5 separate regions of the Homo sapiens genome follow, and all the other regions are linked to region 1. Evidence: promoter capture Hi-C in 16 types of primary human blood cells and fetal thymus (Javierre and others, 2016). All regions are on one chromosome and are shown on one strand. Each heading gives the region's core, a stretch centred on a gene start or on the middle of the fragment in contact. The rest is flanking DNA. Distances are from core to core; before and after follow the strand shown.

Region 1 (5,975 bases), core at 2,439-4,938:
CTACCTCACCTTCCCAAAGTGCTGTGATTACAGGCATGAGCCACTGCACCTGGCCTCAATTTTTGTATTTTTAGTAGAGACGGGGTTTCAATATGTTGGCCAGGCTGGTCTCGAATTCCTGACTACAGGTGATCCGCCTGCCTCAGCCTCCCAAAGTGCTGAGGTGTGAGCCACCGCGCCAAGCCAGGTGTTCTGTAATTTGGATATTTTACTTACTATAGCATTCAGCTTAAATTTGTTTGGTTTAATTATAATTTTATGTTTTCTTGAATTTTACTTATGTTTTTGAACAAAAGTCCTATGACAATGAACCTGATTTTTAAGAGAGTAAATTGAACTTTGAGGTTTTAAATTTCCTGTAGATGCAGTTTAACTTGAACTTACAATGCTTCAAATAATGGAAAAATTAGGATGTTTATCTTTGGTAAACTCTTTTTGTCTTATCTTTCCTATAATTTTAAATGTACTTAGTACAGAACCCAGACCATCCATACTCATTAATTTGTTCATTCAGCAGATATTTAGTAAGCATCTCCTCTGTGCTAGGTGCTAGGAATAAAATGAGTGAAATATGCAAGCTTCCATAGCCTGAGTACTTTGCTTACCTTGCCAGTGATGCTTGTAGTCACATGTGCGGGACAGTGCAATCACAGCTGCAAAAAGTAGAGGTGACAGAAAGGCACAGAACCTCCAAGATTTCCCACGGCCTTGTGGTGTGAAGCAGTGTAACTTCCCTGCCAGGTAGAAGGACGCAAAGGCCAGACCAGCAAATGCAACTGGAACAAGAAAAACTTTTAAGTGGTTTGTCTTTTAAAGGAAGCTACCTCATTCATCCCCACATAGGAGGCTAGGAAGCATGAGTATGTTTTTATTTATTTATTTTTTGAGACAGTCTTGCTCTGTCGCCCAGGCTGGAGTGCAGTGGCACCATCTCGGCTCACTGCAACCTCCACCACCCGGGTTCAAGCGATTCTCCTGCCTTAGCCTCCCGAGTAGCTGGGACTCCATGTGTGTGCCACCATGCCCAGCTAATTTTTTTATTTTTAGTAGAGTTGGGATTTCACCATGTTGGCTAGCCTGGTCTTGAACTCCTGGCCTCAAGTGACCTGCATGCCTTGGCCTCCCAATTGCTGGGATTACAGGTATGAGCCACCACACCCGGCCATGAGGGTGTTTTAATCCTTTTTTGTGTATACTTATAGTGTAAGTCATTGTGAAGGAAAGGGAAACAAAAAGAAAAATGAAGGACTTAGTGCCCCAAAGTTAATGTTTTATCTGAGTATAGTTTTCGGTATACTAGCTATATGTATCAACTTGTTGATGCTTTAGTTTCCTCATCTATAAATGGGACTCATAAATACAATAGTCCCCACCTCATTGGATTATTGTGAGCTATAATTAGGTAAGAAATGAAAATGCTTCAAAGTACCTGACACATAGAAACTCTTCGTTAAAGGTATTTTTATTGCTAGTACAAGATTGCAGGATCTAGGCAAATAATATAACAATTAAATGTGCAAATCTCATGAAGGTAAACTACCTTTCTGTTCTGTAATATTTACCCAAATAGTCAAGGCTCAGACTTGTTAAACTGTGGAGTTACTAAAGAAGGGGGGATTTTCCAAATTGTAGAAACAAGAGTAGTCAGATTTTCCCATCCCTACTAGCTTTCTAGGTTAAATTCAATGATGTGAAAACAAGCATAGGGTAGAGTCCATATGATATTCATACAGGAAGAATGTCCACTGGGGAAGCTCTTTCGGCCCTCATTCACCACGTCCTTATCCCCTGTACACATCAAGTCAGAATGGGCTAGCCCATCAGGGAAGCAGCGGTAGAAGAAATCTGGGCGTGGCCTGGAAGAAAGCAGCATGGTTGGAACGTAAATCATTAACTCCAGAAATTATTTTTCAGTTGTAGCAGACATTAATAATCCTGTTAACTATTGGTCAAATAGTGCCCCAGGCAAAATAAGGTAACTGGCTTAGTATAGTCACCACACTAAGAGAAAAGCCTTTCAAGGTGAGCATTTAAATTAGGGGAAAAACGCCCATTCCAGCACATGATTACTTTTTAGGGCAAACAGCAAATGACACTGCAGCTTCAGGAGGTGCTCAAGAGGACACTGACCGACTGCTGTGGCCGTTGGTGGGAAATGCTGTTCAGGCAGAAAAGAGCCCAGGTGTCACCTGGAGGACTGAGGTATGGGGAAGGGAGTAAGCGTTGAATGACAAAAGAAAAATCAGAGTGAAGATAAAGGAGAAAAGAATGAGAAAGACGTGTGGTGGACACCATTAACCTCTCTGTTCTGGTGGGTAAGGGCTGAGGCAGATGCTGGGGTGGTTAGCTGTTGTCACTTACCTCCCTACGATCAGTTTTATTGTGTTGGTAAAGACGCCATTCAGAGCCAGGGCAAGGCTGGCAGCTGCAAAGCAAAGCCATTAGTTGAAAGGATCTGTCTAGGAGGAAAGGTATGGTCATGGCCTCGTTATGAGAGCAGCCGTGCTGTTTCTGAGATGGATAGAATCCAACCAGGCCTGGGCACAAAAATAATTAGGGTCCTCAGTGATCACTCTTTTGTAGCCGAGAACTTTTGTACTAGGCCAAAGACATTTCTGAGGTACAAATAACCCAGTGCATTTAGGCACAGGGCTGCCTGCCGTGTAGCCTGCGTAACCAAGTCCCTGCAGTGCTATTTTCCTCTCCCGCGGGGATAGAGTTCCTTTAGGAATGCAGAACTCAGTGGCCTCCACACAGGCTCACCGTGGCTGAATCCCACAACGACCTCCTAGGTTCCCAGCACGAAGAAACCGGCCCGAAAGGGCTAGCGCTCACCCAGGCAGGCTTGTCTGCTGTCTCTTGTGTCTGCCTTCTTGAGAAATTTGGCCAGGAAGATCAGAGACAGTGGAGAGAGAAATGCAATAACCTGAATCAGAATGTCAGAGGTTAAAAACAATCCAAAAAAAAGCCACACTCGTGCTCCTACAGGAAAGAGGGATGTGACACAGCAGGACTCACTGGAGCTAACATAAGGTCTCTGAGTGCGCGTAACCGGGCGCCAGGCAGCGCCACCAGTGAACAGCAGCGCCCGTGCGGCTCGGGCCCCGGTACCTCAGGCTGAGGCACAGAGCGCCCGGGAAAACGTTGTCTCAGCCCAAAGAGGCTCGGACACCCTCCTCTCTCAATCAGGATCTTAAACACTCGAGCCCTAGGAGGCGGAACCCAGCGCACAGCAGCGGAGTGGGCAGTGGGTCCCTACAAAGGCCGTCTCGGGGTGGAAAACGCACAGGTGCCCGCGGGAAGCCGGGTCATGGGGAGGGAGGAAAGACGATCTTTCTCCACGCACAAACATCGGCTTGGTGGGGAAATACTCCGCCTCCACGTAGGGGTTCCGGTAGAGCCACATCTCCTCCGGCTGGATGAGTCTCTGGAACGGGGGGAGCAGCTCCGTCACCCTAGAGGGGAACAAAGAAGCGCAGAGCAGGTCGCCTGGCTTCCTCCCCGCTTCCCCACTGCCCGACCCGCCGCCCCGTGCCGCCCGCCTGCCTGGGAAGCGGGGCCGCCCGGGCCCGGCCGTGGATCTTTCTTACAGGAAGGCCGCGAACAGCGCGAGCCGCACGCCCACTTCGGCCCCAAAGGCCACCGCCGCCGCCGCCTTCCCCATCCGGCCGCGAGCTCCGAGCGACGCTGCGCTGACGTGGCCACCTCCGCGGGGAGGGCCGGGCCGGGAACTGGGCACCGCCCCCTCTCCCAGTTGCCCGCGCTCCGGCGGCTCCCCAGGAAGACGGCCTGGCGGCTGTGCCGAGGGCATCGTCTGGCAAAGGGTACGCAAAGCCAGCGGAGCTGCCCTCTGGTGCGTTCAGCAGGGAGCCAGCGCCCCAGTTCCAGCCGAGTAGGTCGGCGTACGGTCCATCATCAGCAGCTCGTCTCCACGGCCCAACCACACCACCGCGGGGAGCAGCCTTCTCCCGGGACCTCGCCTCTAAATGGAAAACCAAACAGCCCGCTCTCAGATCCTCGTTCCTTAGCAACACAGCCGCATTCTGCAGGAAGCTACACTACCTGAGGTTGGCTGGATTGTGTCATTTAGTCCTCCCACCCAGGATGGCCTCCTGCCCAGAGTGTTGTAGCAAAAAATTATTGGCAAAGAACAAGCCCACATATTTAATTTGGAACATACAGGACAATTTATTGAAGTCAATCTCAAGCAAAATCTGAAATCAGTGGAATGTCATTAAAAACCTTTCCAAATTAATCCTCACGGAAGCAAAAAACACATTGGAATTCCAAAGTATTTGTAAAATAAAAAAGGCAACATCTCAGTAAATATAATGTACAAAAATTATATGTTCCTACCAGCACACACATCAGTAAAGAAGCTTAAATATTACAGGCAACCCTAAATACACTATAACTAGTCAACAATAAGCTATCTATATACAGGTTAACCAAGCTTTACACGTTTCACACTATGCAATAAAACATAGGCCAATCAACAAAATCCTCAAAATATTATATATCTTGAAGTCTATGTGGCAACATCAAGTCATTATACAGTAATGCCCTAGTGGAACACCCCCAGGGAAAATTAACACTAATCCCTTAGTGTCAAGAGCTTCTAGCCAAGTCACAGAAACTCAAAAGAGATTGACTTTAGTGAATATTGATGCTTTGTTATTAAAGACTCAAGTCTCAAGTGATTTAGGCAAAGTAATGGTTCACAGGATCTACAAAGTTTATTACAGATAAAGTACAGAAATAACCAATCTACAAAGATCATTATCATAAAGAACACGAGAAAATGAAAACGGAGTCTGTAGGTATCTGTGTTTGTTGTGCAATATCACTCAAATGGGTACAAATGAGTTTCTCATATCAATTCCAAATATACACATACCCTTGTATATAAAAAATGATATTAGCCAGTTGTAATACTCATTTAGCATCTTGATTATTAGTGGCAATATAATTATCTTAACATAGGGCATGTAACAGGACAAATGAGATAAAATAATGACAACCAAGTAAGTTTTATCCAGTCCATTTCTAAACTGACAAGAATACCTTATTCAATACCTTATATAGGTCATCTGACAGATACTTGAGGGCTGTTTGCACACATCAAGTGTGTTGGCAGGCAGGGAGGGGAGCAGTAAAAGCTGAGGGTGCTTTCTCACTAACTAGCAGATGCAGTAATGCCACATAAGAAAACTAAGGACTGAATAAATGACTTTGGCATCTATTCTATTTTCCCTTTTTACTTACATGTAAATTACTTTTACAGCCTACTGAAGGACAGGCAATTCTCATCCCCCTCCCGCTTCATACATACGTGCCACAAGCACCCAAACTTGTCACTTATGCAATGGACTGACCAAAACAAAACAAAAAACAGAAATGTTTTTTGAAAGACACGGATTACCCACATTTTGGGAGTGTAACGTAAGTGCAATTTTTTGTTTTGTTTTTTTCCCTACATAGACATAGTAAAAGGAAAGAAGATGTGCTTGGGGAGAGGGTTGACAAAATGACAAAATAAAGAATGTACATAAAAAGTATTTGTAAAAATGCTGGTATCTCATGCAGGAGTCTCTTCCTCAAATGTGTTCAATCAATCTGAGCTATCTACTGTGAACACTCTCCCATTTGCAGAACTTCACCTTTAATCCACGCTAAAGAGGATAAGAGACTAGGCTATTTATTTTCAAAACAGTTTACAAAACAATGCTTTCTACTTCATAAATGTAAAAAGAAACTAAAATAAGGAGAATCTGAAGAGTTTCAAGTACTTAAAAAACCTGAATTCAATGAGGCAGAGGTCTCAATGTTAAAGTGACTATTTCGTACCTGTGGTAAACATTATCCCCCCCCTTACCCTTTACCAGGAGAAAGGGGGTTCCCTTTCTCCTGGTACCCCACCCCAGGTAAAAGTTGGTGAGATTTCAGTATATACACATTTCCAACTTTTCAGTATT
Region 2 (5,975 bases), core at 1,776-4,275, 730 kb after region 1:
CTCCGCCAACCAACTAGAAAAGGTCGAGCAGACGGGCGGGGCTACTCCGCCCTCTGCTTCTGCTTCTCGATTCCTCTTCTGGGTCTCATGCTCCTCCTTCTTTTGCGCCGAATGCGTTCTCCAATCGGATCCGTCGACCCCCCTAGGTGGGCGTGCCCGGCAGCCGACGGGGCGGGGCGGATATGACTGGCGGGCCGACTAGTGCTGGTTGCCACCGCCGGTTTAGAAATCCTATTCTCGCGCCGGGGACTGGATTTTTCCCTACGTCAGCGCAGCTAGGCGATGTCGGGAGCGAGCTCGGACCGAGGGCTCAGTTGCGTCAGTGCCGCGCGCGTGCTCGTCGGGCGCGCGTGCTCGTCGGGCGCGCGCGCTTCCCGGCCAGACTTGGGGCCCCGGCAGGGTTGGAAAATGATGGAAGAGGCGGAGGTGGAGGCGACCGAGTGCTGAGAGGAACCTGCGGAATCGGCCGAGATGGGGTCTGGCGCGCGCTTTCCCTCGGGGACCCTTCGTGTCCGGTGGTTGCTGTTGCTTGGCCTGGTGGGCCCAGTCCTCGGTGCGGCGCGGCCAGGTGGGTGTCCGCGCCCCGGGTCGGTTGGGACGGCTGCTTCCTAGGGACGGGGCGCTCGGAGTGAACCTGTGGTGCCTGGGAGTGGAGGGGCCCGGCCTGGGGATCGGACCCGGGGTCGGGGGGCGCGGCCGCTCCAGGTGTGTGCGGACCGGGGTCGCACCCGAGGCGCGGGGTTTGGCGCCCCAAGCCCTTCTTGGCCCGGGTCCTCTGCCCGGCACCGCTTCCTCCGTGTCCTGTTCGATGGAGCCGTTCCCAGCGTCCCCCCATCCCTCGCCGCCTCGCGCGACCCCGGGTCCCCCAGACGCCCCGAAACCCGCTCTGGGGCGGGCGCTGACCTCGGCGGGCCGGAGCCCTGCAGGCTGGGCGCGCCCGCGGGCGTTCAGTCCTCCAAACGCCTGCAGGGAGGGAGCTGGCTCTCGCTCGTGGAGTTAATGTCGCTTGGAAAGAGACTGAGAGATGAAACTTTTGCTGCAGGTTATAATTTGAAATTTTGACGTTCATGGTATCCTTGGGTCAACACAGCTAAATTTAATGGTGGAATAAAGGTGGGTGGGAGGACGCTCATTTCTCTTGGGTCATTTTTGTAGTAAGAATATTTTGTAAACGATGTGCTACCTTTCTATAGCCAAACCATTCTTAAAAAATCTGTGTTTTTATTGGGTTCGTACTGTGTTAAATCCGGACAGATAATCCCTGCTCTTTTGAACTCACAGGATTATTGTAGGAATTAAATCATTTGTGTGAAATCGTTTTTGAATTGTGAAACTGCCCTTGACTATGTAAGATACTTGTATTGGAGATGCCCAAACATAGTGGAAGCAGATTGTCAGCACGCTGGCGTCTTTCTGGAAACAAGTTGTTTATTTTGGATTTTGTATGATATAATTGTTTGCATGGCTGTATTTTCTCTATCAGCGACAGAGGATGATGGAGAATGGGAGTTTTTACTAAATCATTGATTGAAAGTTATTCAAAGGTGATGATAGAAGATTTCAACGCAGGACTGTTGACCTTCAGGAAACTAATTACTTGTTTTTCTTATCTTTGGCTGCTTTATTTGAAATTAAGTAAATTTGCCCCAGTGTGGAAATGTTGAAACTCTGACAATGTTTTGAATGGGAAGTTGCCAAATTTCTTCTGGTTAAAACTACTTTTCCGGTGGTATTCTAGATGGTTAACACTCACCGATGTTTAAGGTGAAGACGATTATACATCCGGAGTTTTATTAATCTGTGATTTTTTTTTGTGTTTGTAAATGTAAATAAGACTGTATTTTTAAATGTTAATATAAATTGTCAGTCATTACCGACCTGCATTAGGTGAGTGGAATATCCTGATGGTCTTTAACTGTGGTTTTGGCCAGCTCCTCACTTCGGCATGTGTATGCCCCTTCAAAGTTTAGCCACCGTTTATGGAACTCCTATAAACACCACACAGTTGATTGTAGAGGGGCAGAAGGTGACCAAATATGCTAAGCGCATCTGAGAGATGTTGGGGAAGATTTTTAGAGAAAATAATATTTGAACTGGGCTACATCGGTGATTTTTCAAGTAGAATAGTAGATACATTCTAAGCAGAGGAAAGTTTTTGCAAGAGTATGGTGGGGCGGGGGGCGTATGAAAGAACATGACTTTTTAGGAAATGATAAAAATGTCAATATGTCTTCATGCAGACTATAAAAGGGAGGGATGGAAGATCAAACTAAGGTAGGTTGTTACCAGTTGGGAAGAGTCTTCTATGCTGAACTAAGGGGTTTGGACTTCACCCCGTAGGAAGTTCTTTGGGCAGTGGAGGTTTTAAGTAGGGGTGCGACCTAATCTCATTTTCTGTTAAGAAAACGGGCAACACGGTGGAGGATAGAATCTAGGAGGGAGAGACTAGAGGCTGGGACACCGGTTAAGAGGCTTTTGTAATAGTGTGCAGTGAGTCAACTCTTGTTTCTCTCGGGGAACGTTCATACAAAATCAGCTGACCACATTTTTGCAGTATAAGGTGTTTAAAACGTGCACTGAAACATTTTCCAGGATCGAAAGAGGAATTTGAGGTACCAGGCACACGTCAGTTACATTAGGAGTTAATTAGGTTTTATAGGATTTTTACTACCTTTTATAACATTGTCTCAATGAGGAAATGCAGTATAATTTCCAAACAGCTAACTTTCAGTAAACTTTTTTTTTTTTTTTAAACTGACAAAGGTAACTGTGTCATTGTAAAAAATAAGCGGAATCAGGTATGAAACCTCTTCTGATTTTCTAAGGTAGTAATTATGAGGAACAGATTTAGAATTTTTTTTTAAACAAAGACTGGCATTCTAAAGAAAATGACTTTGAAAGCTTACTCATGGTGAGTCACTGTAAAATCATTTGTGTAGTAAGAACTTAGGTCCATACTAATCTCGTTTTCAGATGCCAGCAAAATATTTGAATTTGATATGTTTGTGTTTGTGCCGATAGGAGAATGTAGCCTTTTACATTTAAGAATGATTTGGTTTTCAACCTTTTAAGTAAAAAAGAAAGCATATATAATTAAAATATGTACAAACCTAGTTCCTGGTTTCCAAGACAGTTTTCAAAAAGCACTTGAAGCTTTAACTTACCAAATTTATATTTGCTCTTTGTAAAAAATCTGGGTTTATAATAGAATTTATTATGGAATCCCCCAAAAGATGCAAGCTCTAAGTAACTGGAAGCTTTTTCTTGGGAATATCCGCAAGCTCAAACATATGACATAGCCTCATATTTCTTTTTCCTTTTTGGTATGTAACATATACTGGAGGCTTGGAGTCATGCCATCCTTTTGAGTCAGCGCTATGGAACTGCCTCATAAATGAATGCAGTCCTTTTGTATCTCAGTAGCTAATCCCTCACAGTCTTTTTTTTTTTGAGATGGAGTCTTGCTGTGTCGCCCAGGCTGGAGTGCAGTGGCACGATCTCGGCCCACTGCAACCTTCACCTCCCGAGTTCAAGCAATTCTCCTGCCTCAGCCTTATGCCTGGCTAGTTTTTTGTATTTTTAGTAGAGATGGAGTTTCACGGTATTAGCCAGGATGGTCTCGACCTCCTGACCTCGTGATCCGCCCACCTCAGCCTCCCAAAGCGCTGAGACTACAGGCATGAGCCACCGCGCCCCAGCCTCTCTCACAGTCTTTGAATGGGTCTAATGTGGACCCAACTAAAGTTGGGTAGCACAATGTTGTTTGTATATTGAGAGATTATTGTAGTTTATTTTCCATTTCATGTTGTTATTTTAATCAGATTATTTTCCCTAAGTGATCATATGTGGGACACTGCTTGAGTCACATCTTTTTTTTTTCTTTCTGAGAGACAGGGTCTTGCTCTGTTGCCCAGGCTGGAGTGCAGTGGAACAGTCATAGATCACTGTAACCTCGAATTCCTGGGCTGAAGCAATCCTCCTGCCTAAGCCTCCTGAGTAGCTGGGACTGCAGGGGTGTGTCACCATGCTTGGCTAATTAAAAACTTTTTTTGTGTGTGGAGAGGCAATCTTGCTCTGTTGCCCAGGCTGGTCTCGAACTCCTGGGCTCAAGTGTTCCTCCTGCATCAGCCTCCCAAAGTGCTGGGATTACAGGTGTGAACCACCACACCTGGCCTTAAATCACATCTTTTAAGAGTGAGCTAGGGAACCTTAGAAATTAACTTGGTCCGTTTTAAAATATGCAGTTCTGTTTGTATTTATTTATGTTTATGGTAATGTAAGTATTGTGTTACTAAACCTTACTGGAAGAAAAGAAAATGATATCACCCCCAGACATGTTATAATGTAGGGCAGAACTCAAAGGGAATGGGACGTTCCCTTTGATGAATTGTTCTTTTAATGAGATTTTTCATGATTTAAGTCATTTTAGGATGATTTTAACGTCTTCCTTCTAGTAGTGTAGAATCTTCATATGAGTAGACCCCAGGAGAGCCTGATTCTAATCAGTCTTATTGAAAGGCTGAGAATCCTGTTGTGAAGATATCTTGGGCCTAACCTCCCATCCCAGCCACTTAAGAGAAGTGATTAAGCAGTCTGTGGATAGCAATACAATGAAATACGATTTTGCTATCAAAATGACAAATGTGTAGGCTATGTAGATTTGTAGAAAAGTTGATACAAAAGATGTTAATCATAAAAAGTAAGGTTCACTTTAAGTCATATGTGATAATTACAACTATCAGAACTATGTTTGTTTAGCTGTAACCATCAGAAGAGGTTATTTATTCAACACATATTTTATTGAATACGTACTGTACCAGTGCAGGAAGTACATGATGAATAAGATACCGTCCTTGATCTCAAAGAACTTAAATTCTTTGCTGGAGGAACTTAAATTGTCTAGGGCATTAAATCTTAGAAATGGGTGGTGTTTTTCCCAAAGGGACACTTAAACAAACAACAGAAGCCATTTCTTTTTAAATGTAAAGATGGGTAAATATTTAAGAAAAGTGTAACACTAAAAAAAGTAAGAGTGTAGACCTAGCAGTAGAAATTATAATTAAGTATGTTTGAAGGTAGTTTTTTTTTTTTTTGAGATGGAGTCTCACACTGTTGCCCAGACTGGAGTGCAATGGCTCGATCTCAGCTCACTGCAACCTCTGCCTCCCAGGTTCAAGCGATCCTTCTGCCTCAGCCTCCTGAGTAGCTGGGATTACAGGCGCGTGCGCCACCACACCTGGCTAAATTTTGTATTTTTAGTAGAGACAGGGTTTCACCATGTTGGCAAGGCTGGTCTTGAACTCCTGACCTTGTGATCCACCCGCCTCGGCCTCCCAAAGTGCTGGGATTACAGGCATGAGCCACCACGCCCAGCCCAAAGGTAGTTATTAATATACGGTATGTATTTATCTGGAATTGACCTGGCGAATACTAGAATGATTAAAAAAAAAAAAAAAAAAAAGGCAAAAACTGCAATTACTTTTGCACCAACCTATTATATGGCTCGAAATAATAGTGCTTTGTAGATCTAATTGAAACAATTTCTCTACAAGAAATACTTTGGAAACAGAATTATCTTATTTATCCTGAATGTGGAGGCCAGGTTTATTTTTATTTTCTACAGTGGAAGTACTTAAAAGTGGCTGTTTGTTTATGTAGTAGGCAGGAGAAGCCCATGGTTTGGAGTTCACATTTGTTTGCTTTGCAATTAGGTAGAATTCTTTTTTTTTTTTTTTTTTTTTTTTGAGACAGAGTCTCACTCTGTTGCCCAGACTGGGGTGCAGTGGCACAATCTGGGGTCACTGCAACCTCCACCTCCCAGGTTCAAGTGATTCTTCTGCCTCAGCCTCCCGAGTAGCTGGGACTACAGGCACGCACCACCACGCCCGGCTAATTTTTGTATTTTTTTTTAGTAAAGACGGGGTTTCACCATATTGGCCAGGCTGGTCTGGAATTCCTGACCTCGTGATCCGCCT
Region 3 (5,975 bases), core at 2,600-5,099, 630 kb after region 1:
TTAGGGAGCTGGAACTATGACAACTTCAGACACTGAAGGGTGCATTTGGTCATTCAGGCAATTAAAACACCCACAGCATCATTAAGTATTAGGTGTAAGGATAAATTTAGTTTGTGATAGTTTAATTGCTAAATGAAGGAGTTAAACTGGACTGGCCTTAATTCTCCAGTCTGGTGCTACACTTAATTTTAATGTAGTTTGAAGGACATGTGGAGTCATCATACAAATTATGATGAAATTTGAAAGAAGATTCCTGAGCAACTTACCTATCTCCAGTGACTCATGCTGATTCACTAGGACTCAGAGTTCAAGCTGCTAACTACGTTTTGCATCTCTTTTCCAGTAGCAGGAGTTTTAATGTGAATGGACACAAAACTGGCCAAAATTTTTTGAAAAATATATCCACAGACTGGCATTTTCTTTCTTTCTTTTTTTGAGAGAGGGCCTCTCTATGGTCCTCCAGGCTAGGCGGGAGTGCAGTAGCACAGTCATCACTTACTGTAGCCTCAACCTCCTGAGCTCAAATGATCCTCCTACCTCAGCCTCCCAGGTAGCTAGGACTACATGCTCATGGTGCCATGCCTGGCACCATGTATTTTTAGTAGAGACAGAGTTTTACTATGTTGCCCAGGCTGATCTCGAACTCTTGGGATCAAGCAATTGCTTACCTTGGCCTCCCAAAGTGTTGGGGTTACAGGTGTGGGCCAGCATGCCCAGACATGGCAAGTATTTTCAAGTATTTTTTGAGGATGAAGTTAGTTCTGTGTTGTTTTTATTTATTTTTATTTTTATTTATTTTTATTTATTTATTTTCTTGTTTTGAGACAGAGTCTTGCTCTGTCGCCCAGACTGGAGTGCAGTAGCATGATCTGGGCTCACTGCAAACTTCACCTCCTGGGTTCAAGCAATTATCTGCCTCAGCCTCCTGAGTAGCTGGGATTAGAGGTGCCTGCCACCACACCTGGCTAATTTTTTGTATTTTTAGTAGAGATGGGGTTTCACCATCTTAGCCAGGCTGGTCTTGAACTCCTGACCTCATGATCTACCAACCTCAGCCTGAGCCACTGCGCCTGGCCAGTTCTATATTGTTTTTAAATCACAAAACATCTGTGAGATAGCTGAAGTACTTTCATGGTAAGAACTATTTATTTGTAAAACTTTTTTTTCTTGAATCATAAAATAATACATGCATATTAAAGAAAACTTAGAAAACCCAGAAAAACAGAAGATTTTAAAAATCACCTATAAGTCCACCACTAGGGTAATTACTGTTATCGTTTTTAGGTATATTCTTGCAAAACTGAATATTTAGTATTAAACACACACATACACAGACACACACACACACACACACATTGATTATCTCTGGTAAGAATAACAGTGTGTTTGAGAACATGGGTAGAAGAAATACTGCTTTTCAATGTTGTTATTTTGTACTTTTTTTTTTTTTTTTTGAGATGGAGTCTCGCCCTGTCACCCAGGCTGGAGTGCAATGGCGCCATCTCGGCTCAATGCAACCTCTGCCTTCCAGGTTCAAGCGATTCTCCTGCCTCAGCCTCCCAAGTAGCTGGGATTACAGGCGCCTGCCACCACGCCTGGCTAATTTTTTGTATCTTTAATAGAGATGAGATTTCACCATGTTGGCCAGGCTGGTCTCGAACTCCTGACCTCGTGATCCGCCCACCTTGGCCTCCCAATCTGCTGGGATTACAGGCGTGAGCCACCACGCCCAGCCCATTATTTTGTACTTTTAAAAAATAATTGGTAACTCCTTTGTATGTGAGAACACAAGAATTTAGAAGTCAAGCAGGGAAGCATCGACTTCATTCTTTTCTACTGTGTGATTCTGAGATGCTATTGTTCTCCTTAAAACCTAAATTTTCCATCTGTAAAGTGAGATGAAAAATCTCTAATTCCCTGAGAGTGGGGGAAAAGGAATATTTAATTCTTTTGAACTTTGTACTGTGTATATATATTGCCTATTAACAAAATAATAAAAGGACATAAGTCTACGTGTCCAAATATCCTTTTTGCTTTTCTTTGTTTTCTATGGTTTATAATAATCAGCTTGTATTGGGAATCACTGATGTAAAAGTCAACCCACTTCACTGACTACCATAGGCATCTCTTGGAATAAACTGGCTAGAGTTTATTCTTGCTAATAACTTTGACTATATTCACCCACAAGTATTTACTAAGAGTAGCCCCTGTGTGGCCTCAGTACTGAAGTAGTGAATTATTTAACTAGTCTATAGTGAATTATTTAACTAGTCTAAGCAAAAATAAAGTCAAACAGTGCTAAAACATGGTCATAGATCCAAAGTTAAGTACCTATTCATTCTCTCACTCTGAACTGGGAAGTCCCAGTTCTTCCCTCTAATTGCAGGGCATCACTGAGGATGCAGAATTCCGAGTGGTGCACTACACTTATTCAAACTGATGGGAAAACAATGCCATCAGCATGAATCAATAGGAATGGTGCTCTTGGCCAGGAGACTGTTATTTCTGGGGACGGCACGCACACTCATTTCTGAGGCTGAGAAATGACACTATTAGTGTTAGACTTAGCAGTACAACAATGCTTTCCAAACTTTTTTACTAGGAAATAACTTTAGCACCAGTAAGTATGTATGTATATGTGTGTATGTATATATATTTATATGTATATCTCCTGTTTATATTTTACAAGTCTGATTTTATAAACTTCCAGATGTTCCACCAGAGTTTTCTCTTTTTTGATTTTACCTTATTACTGTCCTTTACTGCTGTTCCTCTTACTCTATAAACAGAAATTTCCTAAGCTTCTTCCACTCCCCATTTTCCTACTCTCAAGGCTCTGAGAATTTGAGCTAAGAGACAACCTTAAGTATTGGGCAAAGGTCACTGAACTACCATTCAGAACCCAGGGATTCAGATCATGACTGGCTGTGTGATTCTGAGATGCTATTGCTCTCTTAAAACCTAAATTCTTCCATCTGTAAAATGAGATGAAAAATCTCTAATTCCCTGAGAGTGGGGGAAAAAGAATAGTTAATAATTTATCATGAAGTGTTAGCTCTTTGGGATAAAAGTTTCAAATGAAATACGAGGATTTAAATCCAAAGGTATGACACTGATTTTTCAAATTTAGCATTGTCAGCACTTAACCATGTTTCCTAAAAGCATGAATTCACTCAATCCCAAATGCCATGGTATGAGACAGTTATCTGTCATCACCACCTTCCCCATTTTATAGAAGCACAGAGAAGTCACTGGTCCCTGGCTATTCAGCTAATTAGTGACAGAGTCAGGAGTCAAAACTAGGTAGCTGGGTGCCAGAGTCTAGTTACTAGGCAGCCAGTAACTACGAAATCACAGCCAGTTAACTTCCAACTGTGTCCCTTCCTTGCTCAAAAGCCTTCAGTGGCTCTTGAAGCCTAATAATAAGTACAGACTCCTTAGCTTAGCAATAAAGACACTCCAGCTACCTTTCTTTCCTGTTTCATTCCCCATGAAAATCCTTCCTATGTCCTCCCGTGCTCCAGCTCAACTGTACCAGCCACACTTCCCTGAATAGATCCCATGTGGTCCTGCTCTGTGCTTTGCCTCTGATCATCTCTGTATCTGGAATCCACCTATTCTCACCTCCTCTTCACTTTTCTACATTTTAACCTTTCTTTCAAGGTCCTTGCAAGGGGCCATGTCCTTCATGCATTTTCCCCTGCCCTTCTCAACCACAGCTGGTTGATAATCTTCCCGGGGAATTTTATCTCTGCTCTCCTCTGCATGTATCAGTTTCTGTACATACTATGTTCCCTCCTTAGTAAGAGATGAGCTCCTCGAAGGCTGCAATATTATTTTCTTCCTCATGGAACTTTTAAATTTTATTAAAAATTTAAGCCATTCCTGTTCTTTTTTTAAAAAAAAAACCAAATGCATGCATGCTTGTTGCAAAAAAAGAACCCTCACAGAATACATCTCTTAGAAAGTGAAATCCACCATTATCACCCCTCTACCCCTGCCCTAAGAGAACTGTGGTTAACAGTTTGGAATGTATTCTTATAGAGCTTTTTCATGCAAAAAATTATTTACAGAAATGGAATTATACTACATGTAAAGCTCTGTACTTTTTTCACTTAAAATGTATAGTATTTTTCATATAGATATCTACCTCATTCTTTTTTTTTTTTTTTTTTTTTTTGAGACAGCGTCTGGTTCTGTTGCCCAGGCTGGAGTGTAGTGATGGAATCATAGTTCACTGCAACCTTGAACTCCTGGGCTCAAGTGATCCTCTTGCCTCAGCCTCCTGAGTAGCTGGGGCTACAGGTGTGCACCACCATGTCCAGCTAATTTTTAAAAATCGTTCCCAGAGACAGATCTCGCCATGTTGACCATGTTAGTCTGGAACTCCTGGGCTCAAGTGATTCTCCTGCTTTGACCTTTCAAACTGCTGGAATTATAGGCATGAGCCACCCCACCCAGCCCTCATTCTTTTCTAAGTGCAGCATAGCATAAGATTGTAGTGATGCACCTGTTCAATCCCTTCTTGATGCGCATGAAAGTGATTTCCAATTTTTACCATTATGACCAATGCTGCAGTGAATATAAATACATATGTGTGTGCATGTATTGCTATCTATATATCCATATAACTTTCTTTGGATAGGCAATTGCTAGGTGAAATGGAATGGAGATTCTAAATGATGATAAATATAGGAAGTGTCAGCGGTGGGAAGGAAGAGTCTTGTTTTATGCTTTTCTGCATCCTTCACAAGGCCTAACATTGCATCTACCAGTGTAGCTTGGTAGGTAAAAGACCAGGCTCTGGCCTCTGGCTGTCCAGGTTTGTATCAGGGCTTTATCTGTATGCCTTAGCCATCTCATCACCATAAAATAATGGCAGGGTCATTGTCATTATAAAGCTTAAATGAGATAATACATGCATAACAATTAGCAATTAGTAAGTACCTGGAAAACAAGTAAATGCAAGACATACAGAAGGAAAAATGGTAATGGGTTCAGATAATTGTTTGTTGAATGAATTGGACTGAATAAAACAATGGCAGTTTGAGCAATCATTCTAGAAATGGATGGTACAGAACTATTCATACTTTGCTATCAAAACCCATAGCAACTATTTATAAAATGACTGGCTAACATTAGAGGTGCAGTGTATAGCCCTGGAGCAATCCATCTCTGTGCAAAATGAACTGGCCTGAGCCAGAATCAAACCAATGACCTTGGCCTCTTTGGCCCCACACTTTCCCTAATAGAACTAACTGGCCCCAGCTGCAGCCTTATGTAATGGGTATCTATGAGGACAGAACAATAGTTCCCTGCAGGGTACACTGGCTCACCACTGGAGGTTGTTAGGTTATCTAGCTAACCAGCCATTAACATTGAAAATGAATAGAAAGTACATAAATAAATGCTTAGAGTAGTGCATAAGGTTTTCTGTTGAGATTCTTAGGTTCTAGGCCAGAAGTTTTCATCTTGGTGGCAAGGTTTCTATACCAATACTAGAAGATTCTAAGGTAGTCAACTCTGGGTTCTAGAACCAACTCTGCCACTAACTATTATAGCTTCAAAACCTTGAGCAAATTGTTGAGCTTTATTTTACCTTGGTACAACAAGGGGGCTGAAATAGCTCACATGAAACGTCCTTTTTTGACATTCCTTTCCCCACAGGTACAGTCACATTCTCAGACATCAGGGCTGTTTATTGCACTGAACAAAATTAAAGTATAAAATTAGGCAACAGCAATACTGTACTTTCAAAATGTGTCAATGAAGTGATGGCAAAAGTAAACATAAGAAGCTAGACACAGCCAGGTGCGGTGGCTCACGCCTGTAATCCCAGCACTTTGGGAGGCGGAGGCGGATGGATCACTTGAGGTCAGGAGTTCGATACCAGCCTGGCCAACGTGGTGAGACTCTGTCTCTACTAAAAATACAAAAATTAGCCGGGTGTGGTGGCGCAGGCCTGTAATCCTAGC
Region 4 (5,975 bases), core at 3,204-5,703, 520 kb before region 1:
CAAAATTAACAGCTATAACAGATACGACAGAAACTATATGAGTCCACTCAGGCTGCCATGACAGAGGACTACACACCAAGGGACTAAAATAATAGATATTTTCTCACCATTCTGAAGGCCCAAAGTCCAAGATCCGGGTAACAGCAGGGGTAGTTTTGGTGAGACCTCTCTTTCTGGCTTGCAGGTGACCACCTTTTTGTCACATCCTCACAAGGCCTTTCCTCTGTATGTGCAAGAAGAGAGAAAAAGGTCTTTGGTGGATACCAGACCTTTTGGATTACAGCCCACCCTTATGACCTGTTTAACCTTAATTACCTTCTTAAAGGTCTAATCTCCAAATACAGTCACATTGGGGGTTAGGGCTTCAACATATGAATCTGGGGGCGAGGCATACACAGGTCAGTCCATAACACAAACTGTTGGGGAAATCTGAATAAGGACTGGGTATTAGGTGATATTACAGAATTATTGCTAATTTTCTTAGGCTTGGGAATGATACCATGAGTGTGTAGGAGAATGATTATTCTTAAGACAGTGCTCACCAAAGTAAAGGAGTAAAGTATCCTAACTGCAGCTTACTTTGAAATGTTCAGAAAAAAAAAAGGTCAATAAATAAGGTAAAATGTTATCAGTGTTGAATTCAGGTATCTGGATATGGATGTTAGTTATACTACTCTTTCGGCTTCTCTATGTTTGAAATCTTTTTATAATAAATATTTGAGGGCAAAGGGAGTGTGACACCAAAGTAATAGTGAAGACAGTTTAAGAAACATTGATCATAACATTCCACAGTAACCTTCTAAGTTCTGAAAACTTCACCTTGACCCTCCTTAGTCTTTTCCGTGCAACTGATTAATCAAAAGGCATTGCTGATTCCAAAGATATGAGTTACTCTTTCGTACTGGTCCCCAAAAGTCTCATTCATGTCTTTGTAGAGATGTTCCTAGGCAGTGTGATTTCTCAGGAGAGTATGTTGTTGCCATGAGCCCTGCAGAACCTCCCACTTGGAGATCCAAGCTGCCTTCCAACTTCCCGTGAACTCTTCTACTCCTTTTCTGCCAAGCCCCACATCTTACGCCATCACCCTGGGGGACTGCACCATATTCTAAGGCTTCCCAGTGACTTCTTGTCCATTCTCCCTCCAATAGTGGTGGTGTGATGATCTACTTTGACAGAATTGAAGTGGTGAACTTCCTGGTCCCGAACGCAGGTACGTCTTAACAGTTTATTCCCACCACCAGCTCACTTTCCCCAGCATGCCACTCCCGTGTCTGTTGTAGCACCTTGGAAAAGGAGAGCTGCCGTGTCTGAGGGCATTTTGAGTCTTGCCTTTTCTTATGCCAAGCCCTCTCCTTCCCTCTCAGTGTATGATATAGTGAAGAACTATACTGCTGACTATGACAAGGCCCTCATCTTCAACAAGATCCACCACGAACTGAACCAGTTCTGCAGTGTGCACACGCTTCAAGAGGTCTACATTGAGCTGTTTGGTAAGAAAGTCTCTCCTGAGCATGCCGTGCTTAAGCAGGGTTCCTGGAACCCCGCGTCTCTCCACTGCCTAAAGCCTGGCTGCCTGCAGGGTGTGATGGTCACTTATGGACAGGAAATGTTAAAGAATCTTGTGCTCAGGAGCTGGTCACAAAGGAGTTCATGGAGAATGCTGATAGCTATGCAACAAGATCCTTAGAGGGCTGGAGCTTTGGGCACAGGGACCATAGTGGAGTAGAGTATTCACTTCTGGCCTCAATCAGAGGCTGGAGTGGAAATGTGTTCCCACTGTTCCTAAACTATCATTCTATAATGAAGACAAGGTCCATTCTAGAAGAACCTTAGAGATTGTCCAGACCAGCATCCTCATTTTAAGCTGAGGGTACTGTGACCCAAAGCAAGAAAGTCACAGAGCCAGATGCCAATTAGTAGTGGGGCTGAAACAGGAGCCTTCCTCTCCTGGCTCTTCAGCATTCTTCTCACCATGCAACACTGAATGGAGGGCCCCCAGGAATGGGTGATGAAAAAGACATGATTCATAGTTAATTCTAGAAGTGAGATGAGAACCATAGCTCCTTCCAGTTCTCAGAACCTTTGTGATTATTATTTTTTTACTCTGTACCTGTAGCAACGAATAGAAAAACACTTTAAACAAAAAGATTCCACGTGCCTAAGTAGATATGTTTTGTCCTTTTTACCTTTTTCAAAGTAAAGGCAACCTGACTTAGCAGCAAAGGAAGGACACAGTTGGGTAACTGTTATAACTTGTTTGCAGTCAAGTATTCTGTTTAAACTCACTGCCAGAAATTCTCTAATAGCCAATGCCAAAAGTAAATGAATTTTTAACCAATAGTATAACTGTTCTTGACACTAGGACTGGAAAATGATTTTTCCCAGGAATCTTCATAAAAGGGACCCTGAGCAAGAACATTTTTCATAGCAGACAGGAGGACTCATCCACATCGCCAGCAATCATAATTAAGCAAACCGCCTTTTGCACCATTTAAGATTTAGGAAATCATCCAAATTACTTTTAATGTTTCTGCAGTAGAAAATGAATCTAAATTCATTTTATAGGGTTTGTAGTCTTTTATCTGTTTTGGATTCACTGTGCTTTTAAGAAAAAGTTGGTAAATTTGCCGTTGATTTTTCTTTTTAACCTCAAACTAATAGAATTTTATAAAATATTAATTTTCTCTAGCCATTGTCTTAGGACTTGTGACATTACATGAACATTTCAAAGCACTGAAAAAAGACAAAGGATCCCTAATGTCCCTGAAGAGGAAATTAAAATACAAAGTTGTTTTTCATTAGCAAACTTCTTACTTTCTTACAGCTAAACTTGGTAGCTTAGTGAAGTACAGCTGCTTGTATGGAGGAGCTGGGGAAATATATTTGCTTTGAAACTTTTTTATTTTTACATCTCAGTCTTGCTAGCAAGCACTACTTGGCTTAGAATCTGTCATATCCATAAAGGAGGAGCTCATGTCTCTAGTCCTGGCCCTTCAACTCAGAAGGTTCTTCTATACTTTCCTTCTCTCAGGACTCTTATAGCCCAGACTTTAAACATGAAGCTGCATAATTTTCATCACTTCTTACTCTGCCGCATCCTCTTTGCCCATGTTATTAAAGTATTATCTAATACTTTGAAGTTTACCTGAAGAACCTCTTTGTGTGTACTTAGTAATACAACTTTTTTTCCTGTCCCAACACCTTTTAATACAGTTGAATGGATAAAAACATGGATACAAACACATGGATATAGTTATCACTGAAGCAGTGTGACATAAAATAATACCTATGTATACAACACTCCTCTGTAAATAGCAAATGTAAAGTAAAAGATACACAACAGATCATTTTGTTTATCTCACTATCATTTATTAATCTATAATGTATCCCTCCTATGTATCCATGCAAGGAAGCAATACTAGCTGCCCGACTAGAGGGCAGCTCCCTTGGGTTACTTATTCAGACCCCATTTTCATTCGGATCTGAGCTGTCTTACCCGCTCACTGCAACTTGGCTTTTCCTTCTTTGAGTATAAAGTCTGACATGGGATGGCTCACCTATAGCTTCAGTGTGTTAAGTAAAGAAAGCTTTATGCAGATTCTGGTTTTTAGTGGGTCTCCTCTGACAGTAGAAAGATTCAAACCACAACCAATTCCAAGAACCCTTCTAAGAACAGAGACAGAGTCACTTCAAAGGATCTGACTTGCTATACCTAAATATAATTCACGCTGCTTTTCTCTATGACGTACCATAATATTTTGTCCAAAAATCTTGAAACATGTTATTAACTTTGAAGAAAGAATAAAACCAGCCACTTTAGAGACCAGAGACACTCAAGCACTTATCTATTCATAAAGTTTCTACACAGCTGAAGAAGTTTGCATCAAATGGACAAAAAATAGTAAAGAAAATCTAAATACAGAAAAAAAATTAGAGAAAAATCCATCTCCTAGAAAGCAGGTCAAATGGACTCAGTTAAAGACCTCACTGCATGTAGGAGAATCAATGGGAAACAACATAAAGCCTTCTGCTGGGATATAAATAGGAACCAGTCTATGTAATCAAGAAGTTACTTTGTCTCCTGATCTAAATGCTTGCCTCCAGTCTAGGGCTCAGAAAAAAAGCCTGGTTATTTGAACTGGTTGTCAATCAAGGTCCCCTTCATTTTCACTTTCTTGGCTTCCCATTCAGCCAGCTCTTGCAGTGGCCTCTTGCTCATGCCTTTGCGCTCCAGCTGTTTTTCAATCACTTTGGCATTCTGTGCATACGAGTCAGCAACTTCCCTAGCCTCAATCTCCTCTTCCTCTTCATCAATGGTAGACACAGTGACAGAACTGAACTTGCCCATGTCTTTGGTCCGTTTGGTCATCATCACCTTCTTAGGAGGCTCTTGTTTCTGAGTATATATGTTCGTTTTCCCAAAGCCCTGGCCAAACTTGACGACTGCTCCATCCACAATGAAGGTAACGGGAGCATTCTTCGGCTGGGATTGGTAGAAGAGCAGCAGTCCACACTTTGCACATTTCTTTCTGTACTGTAGTTCAATGCCTTCAGGTCTCCGCAGATACATAGTCTCTTCGTCTTCTGTGTTACAAAACTTATGGGCATGTTTGGCAGCATCAATCACACGGGACCGGTCCCGGGGCCTCATGGGCAATTTCTCTAACTGACAGTCCAGCACTAGGACCACCTGGCCGCACAAACAGTAGTACACATGGAGGGGCTTCTCGCCGTCGTCATATTCCTCCCGGTCCCGAGTGTCAGAGCAGACTACTGACCGAGACACTACTTTCGGCATGGTTTCCAGGAGCAACCTGAAAAACTCTACGCAAAGAAGAGGGTCGCGCCGAAATGACGTCACGAGCGCGCCTTGCGCCTTTTCCCTGCGGCTACCTTAGTAATACAATTTAAATGGCATTTATCAACATTTCCATAACATATAAACATCAATATTACTAAAACAACTTGAAAAGTATTTCTTTCACATTTTTCCGGTAAGCTACTAGCCCAGGGCCACAGGTTTCCACCTTGACAGATATAATTTGGTCTGAGGAATGACGTTATTAACTTATGGAGGATACGGGCCATTTAAAGTTTGGTTGGTATTCTACTTAAAATTACTTAAAATATGAAATGTAATATTTAGTTCTAGTTGTTAAATTGGTTGACCCCTGGCAGGTGTGAGGTGCCGACTTGATGGCATTTCTCCTTCGGTGCTCAGAGGCTTGTGAGAGCACATCCTATATGTGGAAACGTTACCGTCCCTTGTTTACTGATACTACTGTCTTAAAATCCTAACAATCAAGGCCCACCAGTTAAACAAGCTTGTTATTTTTGCTACTAGCCAGCTTTCATGGGCCTCCGTTTTGGCATCAGTGAAAGAGCGGAGACTTTCTCTTCCTCAGAGGCTCTTATTTGAGCACAGGTGACCACGAAAGGACCACTTAAAGCAGATGGCGGCTGACAGCAAAGGAGAGATGCAGTGTACAAGTCCCAGCCTGATTTCACTCTGTCTTTTTCTCTAAGCCCCTCCGGGATCTTATCAAGGATATCATGGGCAGAAGGCAAGGAAGAGGATTCTAAAACCTGAGAAGCCCATGCCAGAGAAGTCAGCTTTGGTACTGCTGTTCTGAGATTGCAGCTGGAAAGGAAGGTGGGGGGAGAGTCAGTTACAGCTGTTCCTACATTTGTCTGTGAAACAACTCATGTGGATTCCAGACAAAGAAATCAGGACCAAAGCAAACAGCACATCAAAAGCCTGGGGCTCGCTTCCAGAACTGTAAATTTTAATTTTCCCTTTGTGTTGTTTGATGGAGTTCCTAATAGAAACAGTCTTCCTTGGGGCTCTCCTTGACGTCAAAGTCTGTTTTTCTTTTAGAAACTTCTAAAATTACTAGATTTAATGTGCTCAGCTCTTTCCACAAAACCTAAATAGCCATTCCACCTTCCTTCTTCTTGGAAACTGTGAACCTTCC
Region 5 (5,975 bases), core at 1,719-4,218, 530 kb after region 1:
AGGCTGATCTCGAACTCCTGGCCTAAAGGGATTCTCCTGCCTCACCCTCCCAAAGTCCTGGGATTACAGGCGTGAGCTACCATGCCTGGCTTTTGTGTTTGCATGTGTGTTTATGGAGGACTTAGGGGTTGTGGCTTTGTGTAGCTGTTTCAGTCACAAAAACTGCAGTGGGTGCCCTCTGCCCCTTGAGTTTCTCCTTCACCAACATAGCCCCCCTTCCCCAAACACACACACCTTTATCTACAGATTGTTACCTCTCTCTGAGAAAGAGAATCTTAATTAGTGTAGAAGCTCTCACATCACCCTTGGAACAACTCGTTAAACCTCTCCAGTTTGATGTGTTAATTAAATGCCTAGGTATTTCAAACACAAACTGTAGTTCTCTGGACTTTTCCCCAGAATAGAAGAAAAGAGATAAATGGGATCTGTGCACAGATATTTACTGCCTCAGGCCTGTGAGGGAATGCCAAGTTGTTTGTTGACACAATTTTGGTAGTCTCGATCAGAATCAGCAAACTGTGACTCATAGACCAAGCCCTGCCTGTCCTGTTTTTTTGCATGGCCCTGAACAGAAGAATGAGTTTTACATTTTTTGATGGTTTAATGGTGATGTGTGAAAATAATGTGAAATCCAAATTTCAGGGCCCATCAATGGTCACACGATTATGTGAATTTACTAAAAACCATTGCATCATATATTTTAAAGGGTGGACTGTATGGTTTGTGAATTATATCTCAATAAAGTAGTTCTTAAAAAAAAACAAAACAAAATTTCAGGGCCCATCAAGTTATATATATATGAAATATATATTTTGGTAGATATGGGGTCTTGCTATGTTGCCCAGGCTGATCTTGAGCTCCAGGGCTCAAGTAAGTGATCCTCCCACCTCAGCCTCCCAAAATGCTGGGATTTCAGGTTTGAACCACCACTGTCATCCCCATAAATAAAGTTATTGGAATACAGCCATACTCATTCATTCATGTATTGTCTATGGCTGCTTTTGCTCTACAATAGCTGGGTTGAGTACTTGGAACAGAGACCAAATGTCTGGCAAAAGTCTAACATATTTACTATCTTGTACAGAAAAAAAATGTCAACCTACATCTATACTTATTACAATTTCAGTAAAAATACAGAGTTTAAGTAATTTGGGAAAATGGCTTTAAGAATGAAAAGGTGCAAGGTTATACCTGCTGAACAAATGAACTGTGGGCGTGAGGTGCCATTAGTCTAGGCCTGCATGTTCAGGGAAGGCCCAGGGGAGAGCCTGATGTGGCCTGGCTATTTGTCATATTTGCAAAGGGGAAGTGATGTAATTGGTCTGCAATGAACTTGATTTTCAATTGACTCAAAGATCTAAGGAGGAATAAAAATTATTTAAAAAGGAAATTAGGGAAGAATGGGGAGAATATTGGAATCATTTAATAGAAGTACAAACACATAGACTTTTAACTTTTGCCCATTAAATTTTTTTTAACATTTTATTTTCTTAAATTTTTTTTAAAAAAATAGTGATGGGGTTTCACTGTGTTGCCCAGGCTGGTCTCGAACTCCTGGGCTCAAGTGATCCTCCCACCTTGGCCTCCCAAAGTGTTGGGGTTACAGGCATGAGCCAGCCTCACCCAACCCATTAAATGTCTTTAATGTAACTTCGGGTGTATGAGAATTTGTAAGTTGACTGTGCAGATCTCTTAAAAGGTTGATATGGTGTATTTTTAGAATGTTTTAGACTGCACGTGTGTGTGTGTTTGTTTGTGTGTGTGTGTGTGTGCGTGCTATAGAAAACACAGCATGGAAACCTTGTTAAAATCAGAGGCTTTGATTTTTTATTCTAAAGCTTTGAGTTATATGTTTAATCAGATACTATGTGAAAAATTTTCATTAGGTACATATTGAAGTGTTCCATTCAAGTCTACAAGTATATCCTCCTAAGGATTTAGTTTAACATCCTTTCCCTGCTCCAACAAGGGAATGCTTTATTAGAGTTTCCTAGAAATAATGGGACTAATTAGGACCTTTCATATTACCTAGTCCAGCAGTCCAACCCATGTGGCTCCTTCAACAGCATCGCAGCCTAATGCTTTTAATTTAATTTTAAATTTTTAATGTTTTGCTGTGATTGCCTCTTCCACAGTTTGATTTTTTTGTACTGTATAATTCCATGTTAAGGTATTTAAAGCTTGAAAATCTTAGCATGATATAGCTACTTTGTTTTTTCATGTATTTTTAGCTCTGAAGTTGGAGATTCCAACCAGCTAATAAATGAGATCAGAGTCATGTGTTTTTTTGTTGTTGTTGCTCTATCACAATGTAAATGTGCCCCTAGGAAGCACCTGCTTCTATATGGTGCCTTACCCAAGGGAGTGTCTTCCTGGGGAAAAAAGTGTAGTTTTTCCAGCAGAAACTTGTGAGAGTGCAGAACCACAGAGGAGCAACAGTGTCTGAATAAAAAATTCCAGGGCAGGGAAGCAAAGTCTACCTGCAGAAAGGAAAGATTTTAGTAACTATCAAATCACAATTTTTCTTTTAAGATGAGTGACAAAATCAAGACCTTGCACTCCCCCATTTTGGGCTTACCCAAGCATCGAATAAAGCAGTAGAACTTACTTTGGTACTTGCGGGTGGCAGAGACACTTTCTACCTGTGTATGTGTTTTGGGAGCCGGCAGTCCTTCTAAAATTATATTGCTGCCATGTAATGTCCCACCTACAAAATGGATGTGGCCTAAAGCCATTTAAACATTTAAATGAAAGAGCAGTTGCAGTGTCTTTTTCAGGTTACCAGTTATACTGCCCAGAGGAAATCTTGGAGGGTATAAACCATTTTGTCACACTCTCCTAAATCCAGAGTAGCGATGGGAGATAATGGTTTATCCACCCAAAACAACCCTCTCAGTGGAGATTTCATAACCAAGGTTGCTAAATTGCCTGGTGACTATTAAATCTGGGCTTAGAAAGGCTTTGCTACTTGTGAGTTCAAGATCTCACCCTCACCTTTGCATGTACATGACCTAATTTTATGAGTTCAAACAAACATGATTAGATCCCCAGGGTTTAGATTGATGATGGCCAGACTCACAAGGGAATAATAATAATGGCATGGAGTATTTTATTAATTCACAAATGAAAAATGTATCTTGACAGTTTGGCAGATGCAGATACTCTCCTAGCCAGTCGAGGACCCTCTTTCTTATATCATAGCTGGAAATATGACAATAAATGATTGATCTCCAGCTTTCCCATTACAATATTCCCACCTAGCAGATCACCAGCTATCTGTTTCAGCCGTATTTATTTATTAGATGTGTTGGGAACAAGTAATCTTTGTTTGCAGCATCTTGTTTGATTTTTATGACCATGATTCTGCGAGATAGGACACAAGTGATTTCCATTTCACAGATTGGGAAATTGAGGCCAGAGCCTTTACTGCTAGTAGTGGACCTGGGTTTTGAATTCAGCTTTTAAGATTGCAGATCCAGAGCTCTTTGGAACATATTATACAGCTTTTCTCTCCAGGAAATTTGTGAATCCCTCTCTGTTGTTCACTATCTGAAGAGAAGACATATCAGAGGAAATAAAGGGTCTTAAAATGTTGCCAGAGCAGGGTGTGTGATGGGGGAAAGCATCGTCTTAAGTATCCTGTCATGTGATAGTAGTTTAAAAAATCAAAAAATACATCTTCCACATGTGTGAACTTGGCACATATTATTCTGAAGTATGAAATGTATTTTAGGAAGTTGAAACATCAGAAGTTTGGAAGCTTGCAGCATGATTTAGATATAAATTAATAGTCAAGCAAAAATCATCACTGGATAAGTGCAGTGGGATTGAAAACATTTTGCTTCCTCAATGCCTAGCTTCAGCTCATCAGTGAAAAATAAAGAAGGAGTAGACAAATTCAGTACTAGCCTTTGCATTCTGTCTCCACCTGAGTCATGCATGGTTGAGAAGAGGCAGGTGTGTGGAGGTGTGTGCGGCTGCCAGGGGCTCTGCGCCTGTTTTATGGTAGATAGAGGAGTTTTTAAGAGGCCTTTGTTGGTGATCTCTGGCTGCATAACAAATTACTCCAAAACTGAAAACAACGAACATCTCACATAGTCTTTGTAGTTGGGAAATTTGGGAGCTGGGTGGTGTGGCTCAGGTCACTTTTGAGAATGCTGTCAAGATGTCGGCTGGGACTGCAGTTGTTTAAAGACTTGACTGAGGCTCAAGAATCCTCTCCTAAGGCGGCTTACTCATTTGCCTGGGCTGTGAGTGCTGGCTGTTGGTGGGAGGCTGCAGTCCTCACCATGTGGACCACTGCTGGGTTGCTTGAGTATCCTCACAGCATGGCAGCTGGCTGCCCCAGAGTGAGTGATCCAAGAGCAAGCAAGATAGAAACTGCAGAGTCTTCTGTGACTTAGCCTCAAAAGTCACACTTATTTCCACAGTATCCTTTTGGTTACACAGGTCAGTCCAAGGGCATGTGTACCAGGAGGTGAGACATATAGGGGCCGTCTTGGAGGCTGGCTACCACAAAGCCCTTTTCCACTTTTTAAAAAACTTGCATGAAAGGATATACAAGGGTATACATTCTTAGATGGCAAAGCTTTTCCCATTGCTTTCTTCCTTTGGCGTCTCTTCACTATGCCCTTCCTAACCCCACTCCTTCTTGCTGCCCTCTTTCTTAAACAGGAGCAGAACTGGCTGAAGAAATTATATAGCCGCCTATTGGCTTGTGGTCCTGCCATGGATGTGTCTCATGCACCCAGCATGCTGGCTGAGATTGCTCTGTCTGGAGGCCCCTCTCTTGCTGAACATTCCTCCCTCTTCTTCTTTATCCAGCATCAGCTTCTCAGCTCCATGTGGGTGGTTGCTACTTTGTGAGAGAGGCAGTTGGTATTTTGAATTTTCCAGTAATTATTTCTGAAGAGATGCACATTATGGTTGTTTGGCAGCAACAGATTGAAGTTACACAATCCCAGATCTCTGCACAGGAGCCCCATCTGTTAGCACGTGCTCTTTCCCCCCTTGCTCTTCCTGCCAGAATAGGTTGGGGATGGGGGAGAAGTTTTGTGGGGAGGGCCTTCTATGATTTCTGTCTGTGGAAGGGGATTTCTACTCTGTCTAAAATATAACCTCAAACAAATCCAGATGGTTCCAGAACCCATGGGCATCTCATGAGTGAGAAGAGAAGACACATTCATTGCTGGATTGGCTTCTCTGGAGGAGGCTTTGGCTTCCTGGTGGGTGGACACTTCCTGATAAGCAAGTCCCATCCTCTTACCTTATAATCTTGGCCTTTAGAGATACGGTTTGGGTCTCTTTTTATTTTTCTTCCTTTTTTTTTTTTAGAGACAGGGTCTTGCTGTGTTGCCCAGGCTGGAGTGTGGTGGTACAATCATAGCTCACTGCAGCCTCAACTCCCAGTCTTAAGGGATCCTCCTGACTCAGCCTTCCGAGTAGCTGGGACTACAGGCGTGTACCACTACACCTGGCTTGGGTGTCTTTTTAAATAAAATAGCATAAAGTGCTGTTTTGGAAATTTGAAGTGCTTTCTTCATCCTTAGTACAAACTTTTTTCAGTTTACCAAGTGGTTTTCCAGATTATTCTTTACCTGTAGAGTCTTAGGTTTTAGGGGGAGCCTCTCTCAGGAGTTAGAGGCTTATCTCAGGAGAACAGCAGTGTAGCTGGTGCCCTGTCTCTTAAAAAAGCAATGAAATTTGCCCTACCGTGACTTCTGGGTAATGTTTTTGTTTGGGGGTTTTTTGGAGGTTAGGAAGGGGTTTAAACAGGTAGTTTGTTGTCTGGGTTCTGCGTGTGTGTGTGTGTGTGTGTGTGTGTGTGTGTGTATGTGTATTTTTCTGCTTTGGTTGGTGAGACAGCTTAAAACTATGATGTACCTAAGAGGATGGTCTGCCTTGACTCACCCACTCAGAATCCCGCTGACCCACCCCTCTCCCATGCTTCCGGGGATCCTGGGCCCCAGCAGTTG

Evidence for each region. The method cuts DNA at HindIII sites, captures the fragments that hold promoters and counts their contacts. A CHiCAGO score of 5 or more calls a contact.
Region 2: a contact is called between a fragment that was not itself captured here and the fragment with the promoter of PLPP5 in region 1, in 2 of 17 cell types (total CD8 T cells and monocytes). The highest score is 5.9, in total CD8 T cells.
Region 3: a fragment that was not itself captured here is called in contact with the fragment with the promoter of PLPP5 in region 1 in 1 of 17 cell types (total B cells); the score reaches 6.6 in total B cells.
Region 4: a contact is called between a fragment that was not itself captured here and the fragment with the promoter of PLPP5 in region 1, in 3 of 17 cell types (total CD8 T cells, activated CD4 T cells and naive CD8 T cells). The highest score is 6.1, in total CD8 T cells.
Region 5: a fragment that was not itself captured here is called in contact with the fragment with the promoter of PLPP5 in region 1 in 1 of 17 cell types (total CD8 T cells); the score reaches 6.9 in total CD8 T cells.

The regions. Positions count from the first base shown.
Region 1 is chr8:38,265,536-38,271,510 of GRCh38, forward strand. It overlaps PLPP5 (phospholipid phosphatase 5), which reads right to left and starts at 3,689. Exons shown (of 7, transcript NM_001102559.2): 1 at 3,591-3,689; 2 at 3,347-3,455; 3 at 2,836-2,926; 4 at 2,362-2,425; 5 at 1,732-1,856; 6 at 606-776. The coding sequence starts at 3,664. It overlaps NSD3 (nuclear receptor binding SET domain protein 3), which reads right to left. Exons shown (of 24, transcript NM_023034.2): 24 at 4,169-5,975. It also overlaps a transcript of DDHD2 not described here. RefSeq lists a silencer at 3,408-3,887. The HindIII fragment of the contact is 3,801 bases long and covers 577-4,377 here.
Region 2 is chr8:38,996,593-39,002,567 of GRCh38, forward strand. It overlaps ADAM9 (ADAM metallopeptidase domain 9), which reads left to right and starts at 381. Exons shown (of 22, transcript NM_003816.3): 1 at 381-568. The coding sequence starts at 472. It also overlaps a transcript of TM2D2 not described here. RefSeq lists enhancers at 1-89, 48-147, 208-257, 268-577 and a silencer at 588-1,017. The HindIII fragment of the contact is 252 bases long and covers 2,900-3,151 here.
Region 3 is chr8:38,891,928-38,897,902 of GRCh38, forward strand. No RefSeq gene overlaps it. Among named protein-coding and RNA genes, the nearest start is that of PLEKHA2, 6.4 kb to the right of the region's middle. The HindIII fragment of the contact is 2,100 bases long and covers 2,800-4,899 here.
Region 4 is chr8:37,743,207-37,749,181 of GRCh38, forward strand. It overlaps ERLIN2 (ER lipid raft associated 2), which reads left to right. Exons shown (of 12, transcript NM_007175.8): 5 at 1,149-1,210; 6 at 1,365-1,490. It also overlaps the pseudogene LOC728024. Among named protein-coding and RNA genes, the nearest start is that of ERLIN2, 9.6 kb to the left of the region's middle. The HindIII fragment of the contact is 1,737 bases long and covers 3,586-5,322 here.
Region 5 is chr8:38,792,809-38,798,783 of GRCh38, forward strand. The region is part of intron 2 of TACC1 (transforming acidic coiled-coil containing protein 1); the gene reads left to right. Among named protein-coding and RNA genes, the nearest start is that of TACC1, 8.6 kb to the left of the region's middle. RefSeq lists enhancers at 1,163-1,457, 4,048-4,586, 4,706-4,845, 4,916-5,075. The HindIII fragment of the contact is 1,580 bases long and covers 2,179-3,758 here.